Regions from separate parts of the Homo sapiens genome. Here all the other regions are linked to region 2. Evidence: promoter capture Hi-C in human tissues and cell types (Jung and others, 2019). All regions are on one chromosome and are shown on one strand. The core of a region is centred on a gene start or on the middle of the fragment in contact, and the rest is flanking DNA. Distances in the headings are between cores, read along the strand shown. Region 1 holds the start of LOC124900701 (a long non-coding RNA gene). Region 2 holds the start of SCFD2 (sec1 family domain containing 2). Region 3 has its middle 70 kb from the start of LNX1-AS2. Region 4 overlaps LOC100506444 (a long non-coding RNA gene).

Evidence for each region. The method cuts DNA at HindIII sites, captures the fragments that hold promoters and counts their contacts. A contact is called where the count stands out against the background at its distance.
Region 1: a contact is called between a fragment that was not itself captured here and the fragment with the promoter of SCFD2 in region 2, in 1 of the 25 tissues and cell types used here (IMR-90 fibroblasts).
Region 3: a contact is called between a fragment that was not itself captured here and the fragment with the promoter of SCFD2 in region 2, in 1 of the 25 tissues and cell types used here (mesenchymal stem cells).
Region 4: a contact is called between a fragment that was not itself captured here and the fragment with the promoter of SCFD2 in region 2, in 1 of the 25 tissues and cell types used here (pancreas).

Annotation. Positions count from the first base shown.
Region 1 is chr4:53,038,066-53,040,765 of GRCh38, reverse strand. All of the region lies in intron 5 of SCFD2 (sec1 family domain containing 2), which reads left to right. LOC124900701 (a long non-coding RNA gene) reads right to left here and starts at 2,151. Exons shown (of 3, transcript XR_007058116.1): 1 at 654-2,151. The HindIII fragment of the contact is 4,103 bases long and covers 1-2,700 here.
Region 2 is chr4:53,364,675-53,367,374 of GRCh38, reverse strand. SCFD2 (sec1 family domain containing 2) reads left to right here and starts at 1,314. Exons shown (of 9, transcript NM_152540.4): 1 at 1,314-2,271. The coding sequence starts at 1,434. RefSeq lists enhancers at 1,349-1,398, 1,419-1,618, 1,839-1,888. The HindIII fragment of the contact is 11,346 bases long and covers 1-2,700 here.
Region 3 is chr4:53,661,442-53,664,141 of GRCh38, reverse strand. No RefSeq gene overlaps it. Among named protein-coding and RNA genes, the nearest start is that of LNX1-AS2, 70 kb to the right of the region's middle. The HindIII fragment of the contact is 3,037 bases long and covers 1-2,700 here.
Region 4 is chr4:53,707,196-53,709,895 of GRCh38, reverse strand. The region is part of intron 1 of LOC100506444 (a long non-coding RNA gene); the gene reads right to left. Among named protein-coding and RNA genes, the nearest start is that of LNX1-AS2, 120 kb to the right of the region's middle. The HindIII fragment of the contact is 4,669 bases long and covers 1-2,700 here.

The sequences.
Region 1 (2,700 bases), core at 148-2,647, 330 kb after region 2:
CGACAATGCTGGAAGTTCTATAATGAACCCACTACTAAAAGGCAATGAGTAAGAAGCATGCATTGGAAGAACTTAATGTGGTTGGAGTTTGCAGAAAAGATAGGAAACCCAAAGAACAGAGATATTTATAGTTGCATAATTCAGGGCATTCCTCGGAAATTTTTAGACAAATAGAGCAAAGCAAAGTATCTACATTAAACATGGCTAGGTACTTTCCATTTTACAGACTAGCAAGCTTCCATGAGAAGCATATGGAATCTCACATTGTTTCATTTTTATTGCATTGTAGGACATTAAATTTTGATTCAAATGAACCCCATCTTATGAAATTGAGGTATGGTTGGAGAAAAAAAATCAAATTCCAATGTGGATTATTTATAAATAAAGATCCTTCTTCAGATGACTCATGTAAGTTCATTCATTCATAAATACTTTGTTAATTTTAGAAAATTGACATTTGAGTCAAGCTCACCTCCCTCTCTCATATTGAGTTACATGCTGCGGTAGTTACATGGTCTCAGATAAAGATATATTGCTTCATTTGATAACATTAACTCAGCAAAGAGCAACAGCACTCTAAACAAAAACAGGAGGTCTGAGGGAGAATTCAACTCAAAAAGAAGTTTATAAGTAGGATTTCAGAACATACTCACCCACTGCATTTGTGCTATGCCATAGTACTATGCTCAATGCTGATGGAGGTGATTTGTTAATAGCATGAAGCCACTGCCCTCTAACAGCCGTGTTGGGAAGATAAGCACAAATGGATCATGTAATTACCAGTTCAAGACAGAAGGAGTGTAAGTGTCAAATAAGTGATTCCAAAGATAAAACTGGACAAGGTTCAGAGCAGAAGAGATGAATGAAGTCAGCATAGAGGCAGGGGCAGAGCAATGGCTCTAGCAACCGTCTTAGGAGAGAATCCTGTTTTCACCACTTCATAACAACAACATGGTCTTACGTCACAATGTCACTGAGCTCCAACTTCCTTATTTGTAAAATGGAATCAGAATGTGGTCTTTACAAGTTATTATGATGATGAAAAAAGATAATGTATGAAAAGTGCATGATATACAGGAGGCACCCTTACCTGGTAGCTATACTAAGGCTACTGTGATCTATCGGGGCAGGAGTGGAGCAGCCAATCCTCTTGCAAAAGATATGCCTAAACTCAGGCCCAGTGAGAAATTTGGTTAGGGCCTGGCACTTAAAGGCAGGAATTGGTGAGAAGATTGGCCCAATAGAAATTTGTCTTTAAAGTGTGTTAGAGAATTTTAAAGTATATTGTAGTCAGATTACAGAGGGCCTTGAATACCAGGAAGAGAAGTTCAGGCTACATTCTATGGGCAGCTGGGAGTCACTGGAAGATTTTGAGCAAGAAAGTCACCTAATGAAATTGGTATTTTAAGGCTTATTCTGATAGACCTGATAATTGGACATGCAAACTGGATTGGAAATAAGAGAGTAGAGAACAAAGGATGAGAAAGAAAAAAATGAACATTTATTGAACACATATGGTATGTATATGTTTTAGACCGTGGCCTGAGAGCCAAACTCTGATCCCAAATGGGGTTCCCATAAAGGAAGACTGAATCTCTTTTTCTCTTTGATGAAATGGAAAGTGAAAGCCCAGAAGAGCTTTTCAGAATTCTGAAGGCACTAGACTAGAGTAGCCAAACTGCTACCTGGAAAGGGAATATATAGTGCTGGTAGATGGAAAGCTCAGAATTCAAATCCTGTTTAAGGAAATATTTTTGTCGGTATTAAAATACTTTAGGCTAGGCATGGTGACTCACGCCTATAATTCTAACACTTCGAGAGACTGAGGCAGGAGGATCACTTGAGCCAAAAGTTCAAGACTAGCCTGGGCAGCAAAGTGAGATCCACCATCTCTGAAAGAAAAAAAATAATTAGCTGGGCATTGTGGTACATGACTATAGTCCCAGCTACTCAGGAGGCGAAGGTGGGAGGATTGCTTGAGCCCAGGAGATTGAGGCTGCAGTGAGATGTGATCACACCACTGTATTCCACTATGAATGCAGAGCAACACCCTGTCTAAAAAAAAAAAAAACAAAAAACTTTAAATGTCTTCTTTTTTCTGTTAACAACCTGGCATTTTATTTTCCATGTTCTTTCTCCCTATCGTTTTATACTTAGAGTAAAATTCATAATGGACAAGGCTCAGAGGCTTCAGATGTCAGGCATGATTTGTTCATGAAACTCTCCATGCAAGTCTGTTTTAATTAAAAGCAAACTGTTTTACAATGAAAACTGTTTAAAACAAACTCTTCTGTGAACATTTGAACATCTGTAAGGAAATATAAAGGAGCCCAATTATCAATCTGAAGAGTTGTATCCAAGACAATCCAGTTGTCTTTACAATTGAGGGTGGGCCAAAGAAAGGTGATTTCATTTTGGCAGATTTCCTGCTTCATGGAACCCTCCTCAGACTCATGAAAGGATTTGCCAACTCCAGGAGGCTGGAGTTCTATTGGATTCCAGTAAATGCCAGTAAAGAGCTCAGTAAATCAGAAAACATGACTTCTTCTAGACTTGTATTCGTTTTTCTTTTCAGAATTATCTTTCTAACATGCTGTTCTTATTAAGGAAAATTCTGGGAGCATGTGGTATTCCAAGAGTCACTTTGTGTTACCAATTATTATTCAAAAAGTATTACACTTACAGCCTAACATTGGCCAA
Region 2 (2,700 bases), core at 65-2,564:
TCTTGAGCCCCTGACCTCAGGTGATCTGCCCACCTCGGCCTCCCAAAGTGTTGGGATTACAGGCATGAGCCACCGCGCCTGGCCATGGATATTAATTGAACATTCATTCAACGAACATTTATTGAACACCTGTTATAAGTGTTGGGGATACCAAGCATCTAGTGCATAATTTAGCAAAACAGATAGTTTAAAGAAAATAGTGTTAATACTTACCCCATGATATGGCAAGTACTTAGCGAATGTATCAATTGAGTGGTTTGATAGGTGGGGGAAGTGAGAGGTGATAGGGTGATAGTGGTGGTGAGTTAGAAAAAGTCTCTCACAGGCAGTACTGTTGGAATGATTATTTTCGGTAAGTTTACCAGGTAAATTCTTTGTGGATTAGGTAATGAATTTTATTAACCATTGCATCTTTGAAGCTTAGCACAGAGATTATACTTAGTAATGTAAGTATATTGGTGGAACAAACAGAACCCATAAAACATTTTGGGTTCAGCCTATTGACTTCATTGTATCGGTACAATTTTTCTCCATGTTGGGAATAGCTGGAGAGAAATTGAGAAATCAAGAAGGATGTTGATGCTTTTTAAAGAGTGTGGATGTATCCTATAGGCAACTGGGCTAGGAGAAGCTTTTAAGCAGGAAAGTTGTAGGACCAACTTTGTTTATTAGGAAGAAAATAGAATTGGAGGGTAAAGAGATCAAAAGTCAGAAAATGTTGGGAGATCATTGCCTGGGTGAGCGATGATGTTGGGTTTTTGTGACAGCAAAAATGGAGAGGAAGGGCTGAATTCTGAGAGTTTTTAAGCCTATAAGATGTAGTGACGATGAGATGAGGGAGGAAAGATGGAGAAAGTGAAAATGAGAACAACAGGGTTTGTTATGAGGCTTGTGGGCGATAACGTATGTGACAGCAATCTATAAACCCAAAATATTGCACACGGTTGTTTTTATTATCTTTTTCTAGTTGCTCTGAGTTTAGATTGAGAAGGTGGCTGTACTTTTGGAGACGTGTTCATATCTAAGGAAGATACCAAATTTCGGATTAGGTTTTTATTTCGGAGACTTTTCAAGGAACATGAGAAGATTATCTGAGAAGATTATCTGCGCAGACAGGCCGAGCGACGGAAAGAACTCAGTTCAGCTCCATCTCAGGAAACACCTGATCTCCACGAGCTTTTGAGGAAGCCCGGAGCCACAGAGCCCCACCCACTTCTTTCCCGACCGCGCCATCCTTCCTCACTCCCGGCCTCCTCTCTAGCCAATCACCGCTCAGTTTAACGTCATCACCGAGCGCCATCAGGGAGCGTGTCAGAGGCCGACCACGTGTACTGTGGAGACTGTCAAAGTCTCCCGGAGCCCAATTTCCGGAAGCGGTGAGTTCTGAAAGAAGTTCCTGCACCGTAGTTTCCCAAGTCTGCGAATCCCCAACCATGAGCGCCTCGGGCGTACTGTCCTTTACCCAGCAAGGATGGGAGCAGGTGCTGGCCAAAGTGAAACGGGCTGTGGTTTACCTGGACGCCGCCTGCGCCGAGAGCCTGCACTGGGGCTGCGGATCCACCCGTCTCCTGGAGGCGGTGGGGGGTCCTGACTGTCACCTGCGAGAGTTCGAGCCCGACGCAATTGGTGGTGGAGCCAAGCAGCCCAAGGCAGTGTTTGTGCTGAGCTGCCTGCTGAAAGGCCGGACCGTGGAGATCCTACGGGACATCATCTGCCGCAGTCACTTCCAGTATTGTGTGGTGGTCACAACCGTGAGCCACGCTGTCCACCTCACAGCTAATCATGTCCCAGCGGCGGCAGCGGCCGAGATGGAGGGGCAGCAGCCGGTGTTCGAGCAGCTGGAGGAGAAGCTGTGTGAATGGATGGGCAACATGAACTACACGGCCGAGGTGTTCCATGTCCCGTTATTGCTTGCCCCTGTTGCTCCCCACTTTGCCTTGACTCCAGCTTTTGCATCCCTTTTCCCACTGCTACCCCAGGATGTGCACCTCCTTAATAGCGCCCGACCGGACAAGAGGAAGCTGGGAAGCCTGGGTGATGTGGACTCCACTACGCTAACCCCAGAGCTGCTGCTGCAGATCAGATGCCTAGTGTCAGGCCTCAGTTCTCTGTGTGAACATTTAGGAGTACGGGAGGAGTGTTTTGCTGTAGGTTCCTTAAGTCAGGTCATCGCTGCGGATCTGGCCAATTATGCCCCTGCAAAGAACAGGAAGAAGACTGCTGCAGGCAGGGCATCAGTGGTTTTTGTGGACAGAACCCTGGATCTCACAGGTAAGTGCATTGCTCTGGAGTTCTTCATTACCATTCCCCACATTGCTGGGACTTTCATTGATTCAGCATATATTTTATTGACCTTTTATTATATATTAGATTGAGGATACAAAGATGAACTAGATGGACACGGTCTCTAATCTCACAGAGTTTATTGTCTAAAGTGGAATACAGACAGGTGAATTAGCAATTACAATAACATTTGTTAAATGCTGTAATGGGTAGAAATGTCATAAATGCCCATTGCCTTGTTAAACAACAACTTTAGCCCAAGATTATGCTGACAGGGAGGAAAACTGTGCACCTGGGAAATTTTATTTTTAGAAATTTACGAATGCCAGTATTCACAACAGTCCTTCATAAGAAGACTCTGGTTTGTTGGAGAAGTGTTAATAGATGACCCAGCGGAAGGAAAACTACTGCACAAGA
Region 3 (2,700 bases), core at 54-2,553, 300 kb before region 2:
ATACTATGCAGCCATAAAAAGGGATGAGTTCGTGTCCTTTTCAGGAACATGAATGAAGCTGGAAACCATTGTTCTTAGCAAACTAACACAGGAACAGAAAACCAAACACCGCATGTTCTCATTCATAAATGAGAGTTAAACAATGAGAACACATAGACACAGGGAGGGGAACATCACACACTGGGGACTGTCAGGAGGTGGGGAGCTAGGGGAGGGATAGCATAAGGAGAAATAACCTAATGTAGATGATGGGTTGATGGGCACAGCAAACCACTATGGCATGTGTATACCTATGTAACAAACCTGCACATTCTTCACATGTATCCCAGAACTTAAAGTATGATAATAAAAACATAATGGCAAAAACCACAATTATTTTGCACCAACCTAATAGAATAATGTTTTACCAAATAGATCTTTCTCTGAAGGTATTTTTAAATGAGATTAACATTTAATCAGTAGACTTTGAGTAAAGCAGATTACTCTTCTGTAATGTGGATGGGCTTCATCCAATCTGGTGAAGGCATTAATAGACAAAGACTGACTTCCACAGAAGAATAGGGAATTCTGCCAGCAGATGGCCTTTGTACTTGAACTCCAACATCAGCTCTTCCCTGGGTCTCCAGCCTACCAGCCTCCATAATTGCATGAGCCAATTCCTTCAAATCCATCTCTCTCTCTTTGTCTAAATATATACAGAACTCCCCCACCCTCAACTATCACCTCAGCAGGTGCGGACAGCTTGCCTGACAGTGTGGAATCAGTTCACACTAATTTATTCTCAGTCAGGTTGCCATTTAGGGCAGTGTAATCTGAAGCAAAAATTTTGATTTCTACCAAAACTGCTTTCAAGATTTTATTCCCTTTCATTATATTCTATCCAAACAGAATATGGATCCTGTTTTCCAATAGAAATATGCAGAAGTGAGGACCATTCTGAATTTTTAAACTTCCAAAATATAAATGACCATCTCTTGATGAATAGTTACATAAAATTTTGAAAACTATTTATGGTAAAAGTACAGAGCAAAGTATACACATCCTGGTCCATGGCAGGGGGGTACTTCCAATTCATATTTCTGATTTCCCCTTATTTCAACAATTACTACTAGGCCTTTGCACAGCAAAGTAAATTAGCACTTTTTAAAACTAGGTTTCCTCCAGCTTAAAAAAAGTGAATTAGTTTTTTTTTCATTTGTACTTTTAGTAAGATTCATTTAAAAATGACTCAATTTGTCATTAATAATGTTTTATGTGTTTGTAGCTCAAAGAACAGAATGAAGCAGGAGTCTGATTGTTGTATATGAAATGTGTGCTCTGTATTCTTATAGGGTTTCCCAGCTCCATTTAAAATACAGTTTCAAAATACTGAGATTACAATTAATTAAGTATTCTTGGAGGCATAAAGTAATAATGTTTCAGTTGCTTTCAGCTACAAGTAACAGAACAGATCCACTAAAAGTGGTTTTAAACAAAAACGAAACTTAATAATCTTACAATAGAAGAAGTTGAGAGATAGGCAGGCAAGGCTGAGATTGGATTAGCAGATCAATAGCATCATGAAGAATAGAGCCTCTTCCCATCTCTCCACTCTGCAATCTGCAAGCTTGGCAGCATAGGGGCTGCCACATTCTAAGCGACACATTTACACTCCCACAATATTTGGAAGAGAGAAAGAGGTTTCTTTGCAGGCATCTTCTTCTATTAGGAAAAAAAGTCTTCCCTGAAGTCCCCCAGCTGACTTCCCTAAGTTCCCATTGGCCAATATTGGGTTGCATGTGTGCATGTTCTAGCTGCAAGCAAGGCTGGGAAGTGAATGCATCCCAAGCCTCTTCCAGAAAGGAAGAATGGTGGAAGCAAGCAGCCAACTGGTCAACCACACAGAAGTTGATACGATCAGAGCTTCTCGGAACAAAGAGATTAACATTCTGCTCCTCTACTTATTACCACCCTAAACTTCAGAAAATTACCTAGCTACTCCACTATGCCTTAGTTTCTTCATCTGCTGTGTGAATTAAATGCATGTAGGAATATATGTAGATTCGTTTCGATCATATCTGCCACATGGTGTTAGGCATCATTATTTGAACCTCTAGAGTCGCACAGGGCCTCCAGGGGGCCTGGGGTCCATGCAAATGCTCTGGCTAAAATAAGTGACTGACAAGTTAGATTTAAGGCCTTAATGTTGAATTTGTATAAGACTCTAACCACTACTGTTATCTTTAATACTTCAGATTTACTACTGATTATTGTAATACTTTTTTAAAAAAGGCTTTTAGTTAGCAGTCTTGTCTATTAAATTTATTTCTGAAAAAGCTCTTGGAGATAGAAAAAGTGTCAGGATTCTATGAGAAAAGCCAACCTCCTCCACATTTCCATTTACTCCTCTGTCATGTACCTACCTTTTGTATTTCTACCCTGAGTTCCTTGGTCTGTTCTCACTACATCTTCAGAGGAATCAGTGGTCCCACACAGTCCTATACTGCTCCCAGCTCTGTTTCACCACCTCCTGGCTTTGAACAAAGGCCTGGCTTTGAATTTTCAGGAAGAGGGCATCAACGAGCTTTTAGGATTTTCCTTTAAAATTTGATACATTGTTAGTGTGATGGAAATTGGCACAGCTATTTTTGACACTTCAAATATTTGATGACATCTCTAATCCCTTTTCCCTAGCAACTTCACTTCTACAAATGTAACCAA
Region 4 (2,700 bases), core at 16-2,515, 340 kb before region 2:
CCTAGTGGTACATAGATTTAAGGAGCTAGTGAACCTGGTAGGCTGGATTTTGTGGGTGACAAGGGATTCGATACATGAATGGTTTGTTTCCACCCAATCTCAGGAAAATCTTCTCTCCTTAGGTTTCTGTCAGAATCATTCATTTGTTCAAGGATCACTGGGCTAGAGGAAACCAATTTCTCTTCCATATCCACTCAGTGTAAGCTATGTTTATCTTTCACTTGCTAATAAAACAATAGCTTGTGTTTAATGTGGATTGATTCAAATAAGAGAATTCAGCAACTTTCCAAGTCCACCAACTTCTTCCTGTGTGGTTAAGCATTCCCACAGTTGATGAAAATGGAGAAAGGAAATTACAAAGGATTTGAATATTATCCTGAAAGTTATTTGTTTGCTTTTAAAATCTTAATAAAAGATTTCTCCAATTTATTTTTCATAACTTCATGGAAAGCAAGAATAATTTCTGTGAAAGAGGTGATTAGCAAGGCAAAAACACCATTTTATCTCAAAATACACTGCTAATCAATTTTAAGTGTTATCTCCATTTGTAATTTAGGATGTCCAGGGTTAATAACATTGCAAAGATTCTCTGATGGTGCAATAATCACGGGATGTAAATTGATTTCTTTCGGTGGGGTGTTTGTTAAAAGCATATGAGCTTTCTAATTGGCCTTCAGCCACTCTGCCACATTGTGATCTAACTATATTGCCCTATAATTTGTAAGCACTCACTGAGTTATTTATAGATAACATGAAATATTTGTTAGTTCACAGTGGATATGATTTAAACCAAACCAAAGACAGTATATAAATGTTAAAATCTTGAACCTATGTTAAAATGTTCAAGAGCCTATGTTCTATTTTCTTTCCTCTGTTGTGTCCTCTGATGAATATTACTACCCATGTCTGGGTTTCCTTTGTAATTCTCTTCCAATTAATTACTCCAGAGAGAGAAGAAAGAGTTGCTACAAATATAACATAATTAAAACTCACTAGTTTTAAGAGCGCGGACTGCAGATGAAGGGAAAATCTGTGGTCCCTATGCTTTATTATCTTGCAGAATCCTTCAGGACAATTCTGCTGTCCTTGGCTTTTAGAGCACCTGGTTTCCCTTTTTGTTTTATCCCATGATGGTGGCAGTAGGTTTGGTCTTCACAGAATGCACATCTAATCCACATGTTACTTGCTTTGTTCTCTAGACCTCAACATTCCCACCTGTAAGCTGCAGCACACCAGTATGTTGCAAACAGGTTACCAGCCATTAACCCTGGACATCTTAAATGGCAAATGCCATAAGATCCTCAGCCTTCACAGTGGCCAGGTGGCCACCTGGAGTGCATGGGGCCTCCTAATTCATGTATCACCTCTGGCCTTGAATAACTTCATCCAGAGAGTCTAATATACAGCACAAGAATGATCCTTTCCTATGTGTGCCATGACATGAAAGAGGTTGGGGAACACCACCCAAGACCAAGGTCCGTCATGACTTTGGGAACCTCGAAGGGTTCTTTAATGAATGTTTACTTGACTTTCTAGTACCTGCTGACTAGTTCCCCAGAACACCCGGCCCATCTTTAGAACTCAGCTGGCCAAGCTTACTTCATCCCTGCAAAGATTGACTAGATGTTTACCTAACCCACTTTCCCTTCCTGGGCTTAGATGCAAATTACATTGCCCAGACCCCTTTCCTCTAGATGCATGCATAAGACCAGCTCCTGCTGATGCAGTGTAAGTGGAAGTAATGTGTCACTTCTGGGTGAAGGCCATTGAGAGTCTTTTGCCTTGTCCATACTTTCCTTCTGACTTCTCCTTTCAAAATATCCATGGACACAACATGTGTTGAAGATGGCAGGTAGGTCTGGGAATGACTGCATTTTCTACAGCCATAGACTGGCCGATTGAAATGGACTTTCATGGGAGTGAAAAATAGATTTTGTTTGTATTATGCTCTAAGACTTCAGAATTTATCAGTTATAACAACTAACATAATTTACCTTAATCAGTACAATTCTTTGTCCCCATAGACATACACAGTGTTATGGGCTGAATCTGTTTCCCCCAAAATTCATGTGTTGAAGTTCCAACCCACCCCACCCCTCCCCAGCCGGCATATTCCAGAATGTAACCATACTTGGAGAAAAGGTCTAAGGAAGTGATTACGCTGAGGTCATTAGGGTGGGGCATTAATCCAATATGACTGTGTCCTTATAAGAAGAGAAAGATGCCAGGGCTGGTGTGCACAGAGGGATGACCTCAAAGAGGCAGCAAGAGGTCAGCCATCTACAAGCCAACTGAGAGGCCTCAGAAGAAACCAACAGGCACTTTGGTCTTGGACTTCCAGCCTTCAGAACTGTGAGAAAGTAAATATCTGTTGTTTCAGCCTCCCAATCTGTGGTATTTTGTGACGACAGGCCCCAGCAAACAAATGCACATAGTAAAGTCACCTCACGTACCATCTCATTTCTCTCTTATTTCCCAACAGGTCTGCATGAATTTTTAACCTGTAGGCATCTGCTGAGTCCTTAAGGATGCTAGTTTGCTAGCTCTCTTATCTCTGCCATAGATATCTTTCATGATCCAAGATTAATTGTGGAAACTCCTGTTCTCAGGCAAACTCAAACACACACCAAAGCATGCACACACACACACACACGCACACAGTACATGTTGCTTTCCTTGATATTTTCCACATTTCATAAT